Regions from separate parts of the Homo sapiens genome. Here region 1 is linked to region 2. The links are contacts of gene promoters, found by promoter capture Hi-C in blood cells and fetal thymus (Javierre and others, 2016). All regions are on one chromosome and are shown on one strand. The core of a region is centred on a gene start or on the middle of the fragment in contact, and the rest is flanking DNA. Distances in the headings are between cores, read along the strand shown.

What was found. Contacts are between HindIII fragments. The CHiCAGO score rates a contact against its expected background, and 5 or more counts as called.
Region 1: a contact is called between a fragment that was not itself captured here and the fragment with the promoter of KCNE3 in region 2, in 5 of 17 cell types (megakaryocytes, M2 macrophages, naive B cells and 2 more). The highest score is 5.8, in megakaryocytes.

What each region holds. Positions count from the first base shown.
Region 1 is chr11:74,256,167-74,263,228 of GRCh38, reverse strand. It overlaps a transcript of P4HA3 not described here. Among named protein-coding and RNA genes, the nearest start is that of P4HA3-AS1, 52 kb to the left of the region's middle. The HindIII fragment of the contact is 2,228 bases long and covers 2,587-4,814 here.
Region 2 is chr11:74,464,937-74,471,204 of GRCh38, reverse strand. It overlaps KCNE3 (potassium voltage-gated channel subfamily E regulatory subunit 3), which reads left to right and starts at 3,656. Exons shown (of 3, transcript NM_005472.5): 1 at 3,656-3,807. The HindIII fragment of the contact is 7,698 bases long and covers 1-6,268 here.

The sequences.
Region 1 (7,062 bases), core at 2,451-4,950, 210 kb after region 2:
AGCTGCTCCATGAGAATCCAAGAAAAGAAGACGACCTGCTCACTGCCCTTAAGGCAGAGCGGGTCCATGCCCAAATGTAAGTGAGAATTGGATAGAATCAAGTGGGAAGCTGTGTGCTGCTCATCCTAAGGATTGTGGGAGCTTGGAGAGAGGGTAGGGCCCTATGGCCAGAATATGCTGAGGGTATCCATGTTGGAGCCCCAGGAACACATGGAAAGAGTAAGAATGCATGCCTGTAGAGCACAAGGTGCAGCGGCCACCCTGCTTGTCCCTCTTTCACACACAACAGGGGAGCAGAGAGAGCTGTCTGGGAGGAGGAAGCAAGAGGGTGTTGATTCTGGGGGACTCTTGTCCAGTAATGCCAACGGCAGCACAAACTGCCCTTTCATGGAACCACTGAAAGAGTCTCCTGTTGGGGGCCTTGGCTGCTCAAGCTGGGAGAAGCCAAAGGAGCCTGAGTGTAGGAGCTGGGGTGGGGAGAGAGGGACATTTACCTGCAGATTGCTGTGTACTCAGTAGAACTATGAAATCGGCTAAGGGCTAGGGGGAGGAAACAAACATATGTGCCTACTCTTTGCCATGGATCACTCTCCTGTATCATATTCACAACAGTTATCATCTCTTTTGGCAAAGGAGGAAAATGGGGTTTAAAGAAAAGACATCACTGAGTTCACACAGCCAGGGGCAGAACCAGGATCTGGAGCTTGGGGGAAAGTCTCCCCGTTCCCCTAACTGCTTCTAACCTCTTTCTGGACTTTTCTCTCTTCCCCACTGTGGACCCCCACAATTTTCTCCCCCTTTGGAATCAGAGCCTGCCTCTTTCCCTTCTTTCTCTCTGCCACATCCCTCTTTATATTCACTTCATTGGTCACAGGACCCCTCCTATCAAGTGCTTGATCTGCCCATTCTCCCTAAGGTTTGAGTGACAGAGTTTCCCTGTCCTTGACAGGGGCATGTTTGCATTAGAAATGGGTAGCCTGGTGTAATCAAGGATTATCTCAAAGGAATGAGGTACTAGGAGTGGATTCTAGGCACTAGATGCCTGCGTGGTGACAGTGTTTTTGGTTAAGGGTTCAAGGGCATCGCTCAGATGGAGCCCCATAGATAATGACATCTCTACCATCTTTAAAGCCCACCACATTTTCAGATGGAGCATAACTAAAAAATAATGACCACCATGTCTCCTGTTCATCTGCTTATCACGTTATGGGACTGGAGGGCAGTAGTTAGTTCCCCTGCCCCAGAAAAGTAAAGCAACTTGCCCATAATTACGCTGTGTGTCAGTGTCAGCTCAAGACTAGAAGCAAGGTTTCCTGGCTCAGAGACCCATGCTTTTTCCAAAGCGCCATAGGTGCTTCTTGGAACAGTTGCACAGTGGGCAAATAATGGTACCAATATTTGATGGTATTTTAATGAGCACAGACTGCATGTGTGGCCTGTCATTTATTCATTCAGCTAAGCATTCCTGATGTTGCCTCTGGGTCAGGACCTTTGCTGGGGCTGAGGATGCTGGGATGACTGATTGAGTCTCTGACCTTGAAGAGCTCCCAGAAAAGAGAACCCACAGTGACTATACTAGTGAAATACTAGTGAAAATACTGACATATGTGAAAATAGTTACAATCCCAGCAAAATACTAGTGAAAGAGGAACATATAACATGTTATTGATAACGGCAGGAAGCAGACAAATGCCTAGGCAGATAGGGTCAGGTCCCCAGTGAAACCCAACCTTCAAGCCAAAGACAGTGTAAAGTCTAGCTACAAGTCCCAGGTAAACCCATGGACCAGATTAAGAACCTGTTTTCCCATTCAGTGTGCTTTCCTCTGATTGCTCCCCACCTTTCACCTATTTTACATATACCTACCCTTTCCTAATTTTTTTTTATACTGTGAATGGTGTCTTTGCTTTAACCTTTTTTGCATACTCACAAGCCAGTCAGCACACGCTCCCCATTCTGAGTCCATAAAAAGCCCCAGACCCAGGCAGAGAGAGATAGAGAAACCACCTGTCTGCAGGGGTTGGGGACCACCCCTCACATCCCATCTCCACTGAGAGCTTTTCCATCACTCATTTAAATTCTTCTCTGCCCATCCTCACTCTTCAAATTGTCACATATCCTCATTCTTCTTGGACATGGGGCAAGAGCTCAAGAACCCCTGAATGCGGGTACAAGCTATAGCACAGGTGGGTCAGTGGGCATGGCACCTCTAGAGGCAGGTCTGTGGCCACGTGAGGCCTGGGCAGGGGGCATCGCTGGCCATGGAGGTCCCCAGTTGGCAAGTAGCTGGGAAAAATCCTGTGTCATTACCAAAGTCGTGAGACATGATTATGTCTTTCATGTGATGGGGGTCATGTGAGTTTTGGTTTGCATATTGAAGGATAAGGAGGTCCATATGTGCATATGGAGGTGTGAAGGCTTATCACCCTAACTCACAGGTCCTTAGATTAACATTTGTCCAACTCTTATTTAGGTTGATGCAAAAGTAACTGCAATTTTTGCCATTACTTTTAATGGTAAAAAAACACAATTACTTTTGCACCAACCTAATAAAACCATTTGTGCTCTTTTGATAAACCTAAAGCTTTCTTTAGTCTTACAAATGCAGATATATCACTCTAGGAGAAAAGATTTTGTCTAACTTTATGATCTGTAATCTGTTTTTTGGAAAAACATTATTTTTCCATTTACCAAATAAAAAATTACATTAAATCTTCTTTTAAAAATTGTACATGGTCCCCTAAGGGGCCCCCCTCCCAATTGTGAGAAACTCTCACAATTCTCTCCAGATTCTGGGGTTCTAGAATCTCTGTTTTTTACTCTCTTGCAACAAAAAGGGGAACAGGAATTGTCAGCGGGCTCACCCTGAATGAATGGTTTTATCCTGCTGCCACTGTGTGAGCTGCTAAGCCTTGTGAACCCTCCAGGGCCTGGGGCTAGAGACACCCTCCCTCCCTATCCAGCTCCCTGGGTCCCTCTGTCTCTTATGATGTTGGGGTGGGACAGGTAGGGCAAGCCCCAAGTCCCTGGGCCAGCCAGCATCAGCCCACATTTCTGACCCTAAAGCCCTCCTTCTCCCTCCACATTTGCAGTCTTGAAATGCAAATAAGGAACCACTTCACACTTCCTAGGATGGATACAATTAAAAAACAGAAAATAAGTGTCACTACGGATGTGAAGAAACTGGAACTCTCATGCGTTGCTGGTGGGAATGTGAAATGGTGCAGCCACTGTGGAAAACAGATTGGTGATTTCTCAGAAAGATAAACATAGAACTGTCATCTGACCCAGTTATTCCACTCCCAGGTATGTATCTGAAAGAATGGAATGATAGCTGTACACCCATGGTCATAGCAGCTTTATTCACAATCGTCAAAAGGTGGAAGCAAACCCAGATGTCCGTCAAGAGAATGGCTAAACAAAATATGGAATATGCATTTAATAAAATATTCAGCCATAAAATGGAACAGAATTTTGATACACACTACAACATGGATGGACTTGAAAGCATTATGCTAAATGAAATAAGCCAGACACAAAATAAATATTGTAGGATTCCACCTATGAGCTACCTAAAATAGGCAAATTCAGAGACCAAAAGCAGAATAGAGCTTGGGGACGCAGGCAGGAGTTATTGCTTAATGGGTACAGAGTTCTTGCTGGGGATGATGAAAAAGTTGGGGTATAGATAGTGGTGTGGTCCACAGCCTTGTGAATGTAATTAATGCCACTGAACTGTTCATTTCCACATGGTTAAAATGAGAAATACTGTGTTAGGTAGAGTTTACTATTTTTTTAAAAAATCCTGGTTAAAAGTTTTTTGTTTGTTTTGTTTTGTTTTGTTTGAGACAGAATCTTGCTCTTGTCGCCCAGGCTGGAGTGCAGTGGCATGCATGATCTCCACTCACTGCAACCTTTGCCTCCTGGGTTCAAGCAATTCTCCTGCGTCAGCCTCCTGAGTAGCTGGGATTACAGGCACCCACCACCACACCCGGCTAATTTTTGTATTTTTAGTAGAGACGGGGTTTCGCCATGTTGGCCAAGCCTCACTATCTGCCCACCTTGGCTTCCCAAAGTGCTGGGATTACAGGCGTGAGCCACCGTGCCCAGCCAAAAGTTTTTTGAGAAGGACGTCCCAGGGAGGATGCAGCATGGGCCACTGCTCTCAGGCCCCAGGGGCACACCGGCTTCCACTAATTCTGCCTGAGCAGCCCTACCCAGCAGGAGTAGGGGTAGAATTGCTGTGCCTTGGTCTCCCCGCCCTGTGGGGATTCCCAGTCAGGATGAATGAATCCCCTTATCTTCTTAGCACCATGGCATTTACTGTTTTTCACCTTATTACTGCAGGCAGCAGCTTTTACTATACTTGGATACTTAGGTCTCATTTAACCCTCATAACACCTAGTGAATTAAGGATTATCCCCCCATTTTGGGATGCAGAACCTGAAGTTCTGAAGGAAGTGATGTGCCAGAGGTCACCCAGCTAGTAGGAGGCTGAACTGAGCTTGGAGCATTCCTCTCATTATCAGGTCCTAGTCCTCCATGCCCCTGCCCCACCCCTCCTCTCCTTCTGCTATGGTGTGGGACTAAAAAGGCACTCGTCTGGAAGTCAGGTGGCCTGAGCTCTAGTCCAGATTGTGCTAAGGTATGACCCTGGACAAATCACTTTCCTTGTCAGACCCTCGAATTCCTCATCTGTAGGAGGCACTGCTGATTTGTCTGCCCTCCCCACTCCAGAGGAGTTAGGAGGTCTCAAAGGTTGTAAACGTGCTTTATAAATGATACAGACTGTATCATGTCAGTTATTCTAAGCTTGTTTGATTAGTCATTCTATAAGTCATTATGGAATGGCATCATTCTCATTAATCAGGAAGAAACTGTCTCTGTCAACACTCCATTCACTCCTCAGTCACCTATTGCCTGCACCTGGAAGAATCCAGCCTTTCTGCTAGTCTTGGGTTACAAGGTTTTGCCTGGCTATGGGCTGGAGTTTTCTAGCAAACTGCTGGGAGAGGAAGCCAGCTCGAGGAATAAGGGAGCCTCTTGAGTTGACATAACTTTCTGAGCCCTGGCCCCAGACTGAGAATGAGTTGATTCTGGCTGCTGATGGGGTGGCCAGCTGGAGCAGCAGAGTTGGCTCCAAGATTGCAAACAAAACAGTGACTGCAGGGAGGAGTGTGACTGCGTTTTGCTTTCTCTGCTGCTAGTGTAGGCTCTCTTCTTGCTTTTCCCTTGGTAAAATCTTGACCTTTCACTTCCAACCCCCACTTCTCATGACAGGCCCCTGCATCCAACTTAAGGGTTCTTGGCCCCTCACTTTTGAAATCTAACTAGTCTCTTTCTTGTTCATTCCACCTCCAAAATAATGAGACTATCCTGTTCTCTCAGCCCAGTGGCCACTGTTCTAATTAAGTATACCTGTGTCTTTTCCTTGCCCAATTACAACTGCCTCTTTACTGACCTCTTGGCCTCATGTCTGGCACCCACCAATCCATCTACACAGGCTACCAGAGTGACTTTCCTTTATAAAAAAGACCTGACCTTGTCTTTTTATATGGGGTCATGCCTATTTAATAACTTCTGGAAACTCCTTATTCTTGCCACTTAAGGCCTTTATGCCCTGACTCCCACCTTCTCTCCTGGCTCTTCTCCTATCTCGGCCCATACTCCAGCCACAGTCTTCTTCCTAGGCTGACTTTCAAGTCTCCAGCGCTTGTCTGTGCTGTTCCTTCTGAGATATCTTGCCCTTCCTCCTCCACCTCCACTTTGTGATACTTCAAGGCTCAACTCAAATGCTACCTCTTGGCTGGGTGTGGTGGCTCACTCCTATAATCCCAGCACTTTGGGAAGCTGAGGCGGGCAGATCACTCGAGGTCAGGAGTTTGAGACTAGCCTGGCCAACATGGCAAAACCCCATCTCTACTAAAAATACAAAAATTAGCTGGGCGTGGTGGCAGGCACCTGAAACCCCAACTACTTGGGAGGCTGAGGCAGGAGAATTGCTTGAACCTGGGAGGCAGAGGTTGCAGTGAACCAAGATTGTGCTGCTGCACTCCAGCCTAGGTGACAGAGGAGACTGTCTAAAAAAAAGAAAGAAAAAATGCTACCTCTTGTGAAACCATTCCTGGCCTGTTTCCAAATAGGTTTAGTTACTGCCCACCCCCAACCTTCTTACAACGTGGTCACTATTTCTATCACTGTCTCTCTAGACAATGAGTTCATTTTAAGAGCCTCATTATTTACCTCTGTCTACAAAGTCCATTGGATGCCTGGCACATATTGGGTGCTCGGGTTTGCTTAATCAGCAAATGCTCCTAACAGTATGTTAAGAGCGTGGGGCTATGAAGTCATGCCCCATTCCCCTCATGGCTTTGTCTTCAGTCCTCCCAGTCTCAAGATTCTGTCCCCCATCAGATCTACATCTGCCTCCAAAATGTGCCTACCTTCCTTTTTTGGGAAGGAGTTTCCCTTGGACTTTCACTAGTGTCTATGTGACAGGGCCTTTGGTTTGTCCCAAACATGCTCCTTCTGGCTTTGTGGCAATCCTTCATTCAAGGATTCTGGGATCTCCTTCTTTATTCCCTTCCTGAGTTCATACATGCTGATCTGTAGGCTCTGCAAGGACACTGTTATGGCCAACACATAGTAGGTGCTCGTTAAAGCCATGTTAAGTGAACACATGAATGGTCCCTTCTCTTCTGGGGTGTAATGGAATGCTCAGTAGACTTGGAATCAGAAGACAAAGATGCTGCCACTCTGGCCGTGGCTGTGGGCAAGCCATTTCAAATGTCTGAGCTTTTGCTTCCTTGCCTTTAAATTGGGGATAGTGCCTGTACTTCACAAGGATACAAAGGATGAATGGAGATGAAAGTGCCTAAAACACAACCAACCACAAAGCTCACGAGCATTTCATTCATTCTCAGCCTCCTCCATCAAGTGTAAAGAGGGTTCATCTCCACGGTCATCCTCCTTCTGCTCTTTTAAGTATCTGGTCCAAAATGACTTCTGCCCAGGGTCCCTTGTAGCATGCAGGAACAGAATGATGTGGAAGCAAGCCAGTTT
Region 2 (6,268 bases), core at 2,407-4,906:
TGGGCCTCAGTTGAAGATGCAGCAAGAACAACAACAAAAGACTTTTTTTTTTAAGTAAGTGAAATATATCAGAATCATCTGTTAAGGTGTTACTGAAAAACAAGGCAGGGGATGGAGGTAGGGAGGCAGGAGAAGGGAGGAATTAGCATTTATAGATTGGATGCTCAGGGAAGGCCTCACCAAGAAGGTAACATTTAAGCCAAGACTTGTTTGTGGCATGTCTCTAGGTGAGTCTTCCCCTCATCCCTTCAATCAGCTCATCCTACCCTCAAATTCCATCCACCCCACTCCCCCATCTTCCCAGGGTCAGGGCCATGTCTCCAATGTCTTTGGATTAGGGAGCTCCTTGAAGTCCCTGTCAGACTAGAGATCCCCAGAGACAGGAACTCTGTTTCCTCCTGCTCTTTCTCATCCAGTGACAATAGAAGCTGCCATTTATTAAGCCTATGCCTCATGCTAGGCCCGGCTCCAGGCATATTAAACGCATCACTTCATCTAAGCCTGCTGGCAAGGCTCCAGGGCACAGGTGGGGAACATGAGGCAGCTCAGCCCCCTTTCCAATGGCCAGCTGCCTTCCCTGACATGGTTGCTGCCTTATCCTCACCCCAGAGAAGGGGGAGTAGAGGATAGACCTTAAATTCTTTTTTTTTTTTTCTTTGAGACAGAGTCTTGCTCTGTCACCCAGGCTGGAGTGCAGTGGCGCAATCTCAGCTCACTGCAACCTCTGCCTCCCAGGTTCAGGCGATTCTTCTGCCTCAGCTTCCCAAGTAGCTGGGATTACAGGTGCATGCCACCACACCCAGCTAATTTTTTTTTTTTAATCTTTAGTAGAGACGGAGTTTCACCATATTGAGCAAGCTGGTCTTGAACTCCTGACGTCGTGATCCGCCACCTCCCAAAGTGCTGGGATTACAGACGTGAGTCACCACGCCCAGCAAATTTTTTTTTTCTTGAGATAGGGTCTCACTTTGTTGTCTAGGCTGTAGTGAGTGCAGTGGCACAATCTTGGCTCACTGCAGCCTCAACCTCCTGGGCTCAAGCAATCCTCCCACCTCAGCCTCTCAAGTAGCTGGTACTACAGGCACATAGCATCATGCCCAACTAATTTTTTTATTTTTTGTAGAAATGAAGTCCCACTATGTTATCCAGGTTGGTCTTGAACTCCTGAGCTCAAGTGATCCACCCACCTCAGCCTCCCAAAGTGTTGGGATTACAGGCATGAGCCACTGCTCCTGGCCGACCTTAAATTCTTGAAAGACTGTAAAAGGGAACACAGATCAGACTTCTATTTCATGTCTCCAATGGGTGCAAGGACCAAAGGGTAGAAGTCAACAGGAAGCAGTTTTTGTTAAAATGTGAGAACATCCTAACAATCAGAGCTGTCTGGCTGCCTTGCAGGCATTGAGCTCCCTAGAGGTGTGCAAGAGAAGCTGGATAGCCTCATTTCAAAAATGAAATAGAGGCAGAGTGTGGTGGCTCACACCTGTAATCCCAACACTTCGGGAGGCCAAGGCGGGCAGATTACTTGAGGTCAAGTGTTCGAGACCAGCCTGGCTAACATGGCAAAACCCCGTCTCTACTAAAAATACAAAAATTAGCTGGGTGTGGTGGTACACCTGTAATTCCAGCTACTCAGGAGGCTGAGGCACAAGAATTGTTTGAACCTGGGAGGCAGAGTTTGCAGTAAGCTGAGATCACACCACTGCACTCCAGCCTGGGTGATATGTTTCCAAAAATAAAGAAATGGGAGAATCTGTTAGGCTCATGAGGGATTTGACTAGGAAACTCTTGAGAGTTCTTCCAATTTACATTCCAGAACCCTAAGATGATATGATTCTAAGACTTTGGTTCTAAGATTTTATTAGAACAAAAGACAATCCCTATCTTCAAAGAACTCACAACCTAGCAGATGGGGTGGACAAATGGTTACTTTCTATAACTGTCATAGACAGTCCTACAGAGTAAATGCAAGGCCGTGGGCAGGATCTGAGAAAGAACCCTGACCAAGCCAGGACTGCTTCCTCATGGCTAGTCTCAAGAACCATTTGCATCAGAGTCATTTGGAAATCTTGTTTGAAAATGCTGATTTCTAGGCTCTACTCCAGATTTCCTGAATTAGAACCTCTGGAGTGGAGCCCAAAAGTCTACTTAGTAAAACAAGCTCCCCAGGGGATTCTTAGGCAGATTGAAAACTGAGGTTGCAGGATGGGCACAGTGGTTCATGCCTGTAATCCCAGAACTTTGGGAGGTGGAGGTGTGCAGGTCACTTGAGCCCAGGAGTTCGAGATCAGCCTGGGCAACATGGAGTAACCCAATTTCTATAAAATACAAAAATTAGCCAGACATAGTGGTGTGTCCCAGTTACTCAGGAGGTTAAGGGAGGAGGATCACCTGAGCCCAGGAGTTCAAGGCTGCTGTGAGCCATAATCACTCCACTGCACTCCAGCCTGGGTGACACAGTGAGATCCTGTCTAAAGGAAGGAAGGAAGGAAGGAAGGAAGGAAGGAAGGAAGAAAGAAAGGAAGGAAGGAAGGAAACTGAGATTGCATGCTTAGGTGATTAGGATGACTTTTCTGAGAGGTGATCTCCAGACTGAGAAAAAGGAATAGTAGGGTCAAAACAAGGTGGGTACAATATACCCACCTTGTATATTGTATACAATATACAATATACCCACCTTGTAGTAGGTCTTTTTAAAACGATAGCACTTCTTAGATATATTCTGGGATTCTGTAATTGAGAGTATGTGCTTCAGATATCCTGGAGCAGACCTTTGCAAGGGAGTGAAAGAGCTGGCCTGAGGCTGTTATTAATTATTCTGAGGCAGTGAGCTGGTAAAAGGGCACCCCACAGGGTCCCCCGGAGAAATTCTCTGCAACTGTCCCTTCCTCTGCCACTAGCCTCCTGGCTCTTATTCCTCAGCTGCCCCGGCTGCCCCAGTTCTCTGAAGCCTGCAATGTCACCAGCAAGGAAACAACAGTTTGAGTGAGGGCATGGTGGTGGGAAAATAAACTGTTCTGGGACAGAGATGAGTAAGGTGCGGCTGAACACAAGTTGGTCAGGCACTGTCACGAACTTTTGAGGCTTGGTGGAGGAAACATTTGCTGGTGCTACTCAGAGACAGAGGGGTGTGTAGTGGATTTTGGGTCTGGGCTCTGCTACCTGGGCAAATCCCTTCTCCAACTGGGCCTCTGCGTCCTGTGTGGAAAAGAGTTTGTGTAAGAATCATATTATTTTGCTGTTGACCCTTTGGTTTTAATACTTTGGACTCAAAGGTCTCATCTGACCTCAACCATAAGCCTGTGAAGAATGCATGGAGGAACTGTACCAACTTTACAGCCAGGCCAAGGCCCAGTGAGGGGCAGCGACTCGCCCACCACCACACAGCCACACTGGAGCAAAACCGACTCCTGGAGATCGGCCTCATGCTGGGCTTGCTGAGGCCCAGCGGAGCGAGAGGCTTTCGGTCTCTGGTCCAGGAAGCAGGCGCTGCAGGGGACGGAAGGGTCGGAGCCCACAGCCGGGGGAGGCCAAGGAGCTGGGCGGAGGCACTCCAGGCCAGCCCGGGGAGAAGTGGGTGTGCTGGGGCCCGGGCGGGGCAGGGGGAGGGGACGCCCGGGGGAGGGAAAAGGGAGCCGAGCGCGGGTGGGAGCCCAGAGCCAGAGAGCGCGCTGGGCGGTGCTGGGCACCCGCGGAGTGGAACGGGGCTGGTGGAATGCACAGGGTCGCAGCGCTTGGGCCACCCTCGGTCAGAGGGCGCCGTGTCCAGCGAGCAAACGGGCGCCCCGGAGCCTTGCTGAGAGGCAGGTAAGGCACCCACCCAGCTGGGAAGGCTGAGCTGCGGCCTGGGGTGGAAATGAGGGGTCTTCCCGCCTCCCTTCCAAGGGCCACGGCGCGCTCTCCGTGAGACTGTGGAACCGAGGGGGAGTGGGGGAGGGGTGGGCGCTGCAAATACCAAGCTAGTCCTCCCGGATCCTCCCCGATCCTCCCGAGCGCAGTGATCGTGGAGCAGCATGTGGGAGTAGGGAGCTGGGCTCTGCGCGCCCCGTCTGGAAACCGTGGGGACTTGCGCCGTTATTCCCAGCCCTCAAGACGGCCACAAGAAAAGTTCCTCCACACCCACAGACGTGCAAGCGAACACTTGCAGCTGGCAGCCAGTGCACACGCAGAAACGACATTTCAGGACCCAGCACAGTCTCATTTGGCTGGAGCCACCGGCTCTGCGGAGCTGACTTGCCCATTCCCTCTACACCTCACTGTGTCCTTCACCCTGTCTGACCTAGTCCCGGGAAACCTGGTGACTCCCAAAAGCATCTTCTGCTGCCAGTAACATAGGTCGAGGCTGGGAGTCGGGAGACTTGAGTTCTAGTTTACAGGCTGTGTAAACCCGGGCAGTCATCCCTCAGCTCTGCGCCTTGTGCTCGCTTTTCCTGGGCCACCATTTGTAAAACGGGCCTCCTGCTCCTGTTGCCTGCATACCCCATGGGACAGAAGGGGAAAGGGGGATTGGACCTCAGAGTCTCTTATCTCGAAAATAAATGAGTTTAGTTCTTGCGTGAAAGCCCACCAGAGTATCCCTCCTAAAATCCTCTCCACTAATTTGCATATAGGGAAACTGATGCCCCAGGGGAGATGATTTACCTAAGGTTACAACAGAGACCAAACAGAATTAGAACCCAAGTTTCCTCAGTCCTAGCCCAGGGCTCTCTCCACTTCACCTACAAAGGCATGTTGTAAACGTGTGAGCTCCTCCTTATTTCCTTGCATCCGTCCACTTTGTCTGTTCCTGATGGAGGAAGACCCATGCTGGGGGCCTAGAAGCTGCTTTCAGATTTTCTTGACTCCTTGAGATGATAACCATCACCTTCTCCATCCCTCACTCAGTCTATACGTCTCAAAGCACATCCATAAACTTAATGTGCGAGTGCTCAAAATACCTTCTAAGAGGGAAGCAAGACAAGAAACTCCATCTTACTGATGAGGAAAATGAGGCCTAGAGGGATATAGACTTAGAGTGATAAAGTTACTTAACCAAAACGCACGGCTAGACGTGTTGGCCTAGTAGGGGCAGGAACCCAGGTCTCCTGATTCCCCCTCTGATGTGTTCTCCACCAGCTACAGGACTACAGAATGGTACCCCTCAATGATAAGGGACTGCGGGAATGATCATAGAGGGTAGGAAACAGGAAGGCTTCTGGAGAAGGTGAGGTTCCTGGGAATCAAGAAGAATAATAAGAACCTCCTGGCTGCTTCTGAGGCTAGGAGACCTGGAGTGGGAAAGGAGACACAGAGATGGTTGTTCTTGGTAATATGGGGGGAAAGGAAAGATGTGGAGACAGAAAAGGAAAACAGTGTGACCAGCCTGCCTGATAATTATCTTGTATGTTTGCAATTTCTAAAACATTCCCATCTCTTGTCTCCTCTAGTTCTCATGTGTGGTAGGCAGGGCAGGGATCATTATCCCCATCTTATAGATGAGGTTCAGAGGAAGTAAATGCAGTGCTCAAGGACACAGAGCCAAGCATACAGCCAAGATTAGAATCATGAAAGGAACACTTGAACGGCAAGATCACAGGCTGAGGGACTGGGGAGTTGGACTGTGTGTGTGTGTGCAGTGGGTGGGTGTATGTGGCCACACCCTGGGTAGGTACACAGGGAAGAGGGTTGCAAAGCCATTGCTGGTGTTTTGAGGCCAAGAATGTTTGCCCTTTGGATTGAATGGGGTCCAGGTGCAGGGAGCATCTGGGCTTCCAAAGAAGGCTTAGAATTCTTCCTCCTCTGACTCACCCCACCTGACTGAGATGGCTTCTTTTCTTTGAGCCATCCCTTCCCCAGACCAAATGAAATCTGTTTTGCCCTGCCCTGGAGGTTGCTTTTTAAATATTGTAAACTGTTTTCATGAATGTATGTGCGTGTGCCAGAGCGGGGGAATGCTCTTAGAGAAGAGGCATTGATTCATTTATTCTTGAATGCCTGCTAGGTATCAGGGCTGGGAAATAAAGAAATGTATGAGGCACAGGACCCTGCCCTCTTACCTTAAAGCGCACAGTTACACACATACACATACACACACACACATACACACACACACACACACACACAGAGTTTCAGTACAGTATAGTGCTCTAATAAGCCTTCGTGCAAAGCACTTTTGGGAAAAAACAAGAGGGAGAGACTAACTGGCTAGGGAGTGAGGAAGGAGGAGTCCCAGGAGAAGGTCTGCAGAGATGAATTGGAGTTGGGTCTTGAAGGATGAGTAGGAGTTTGC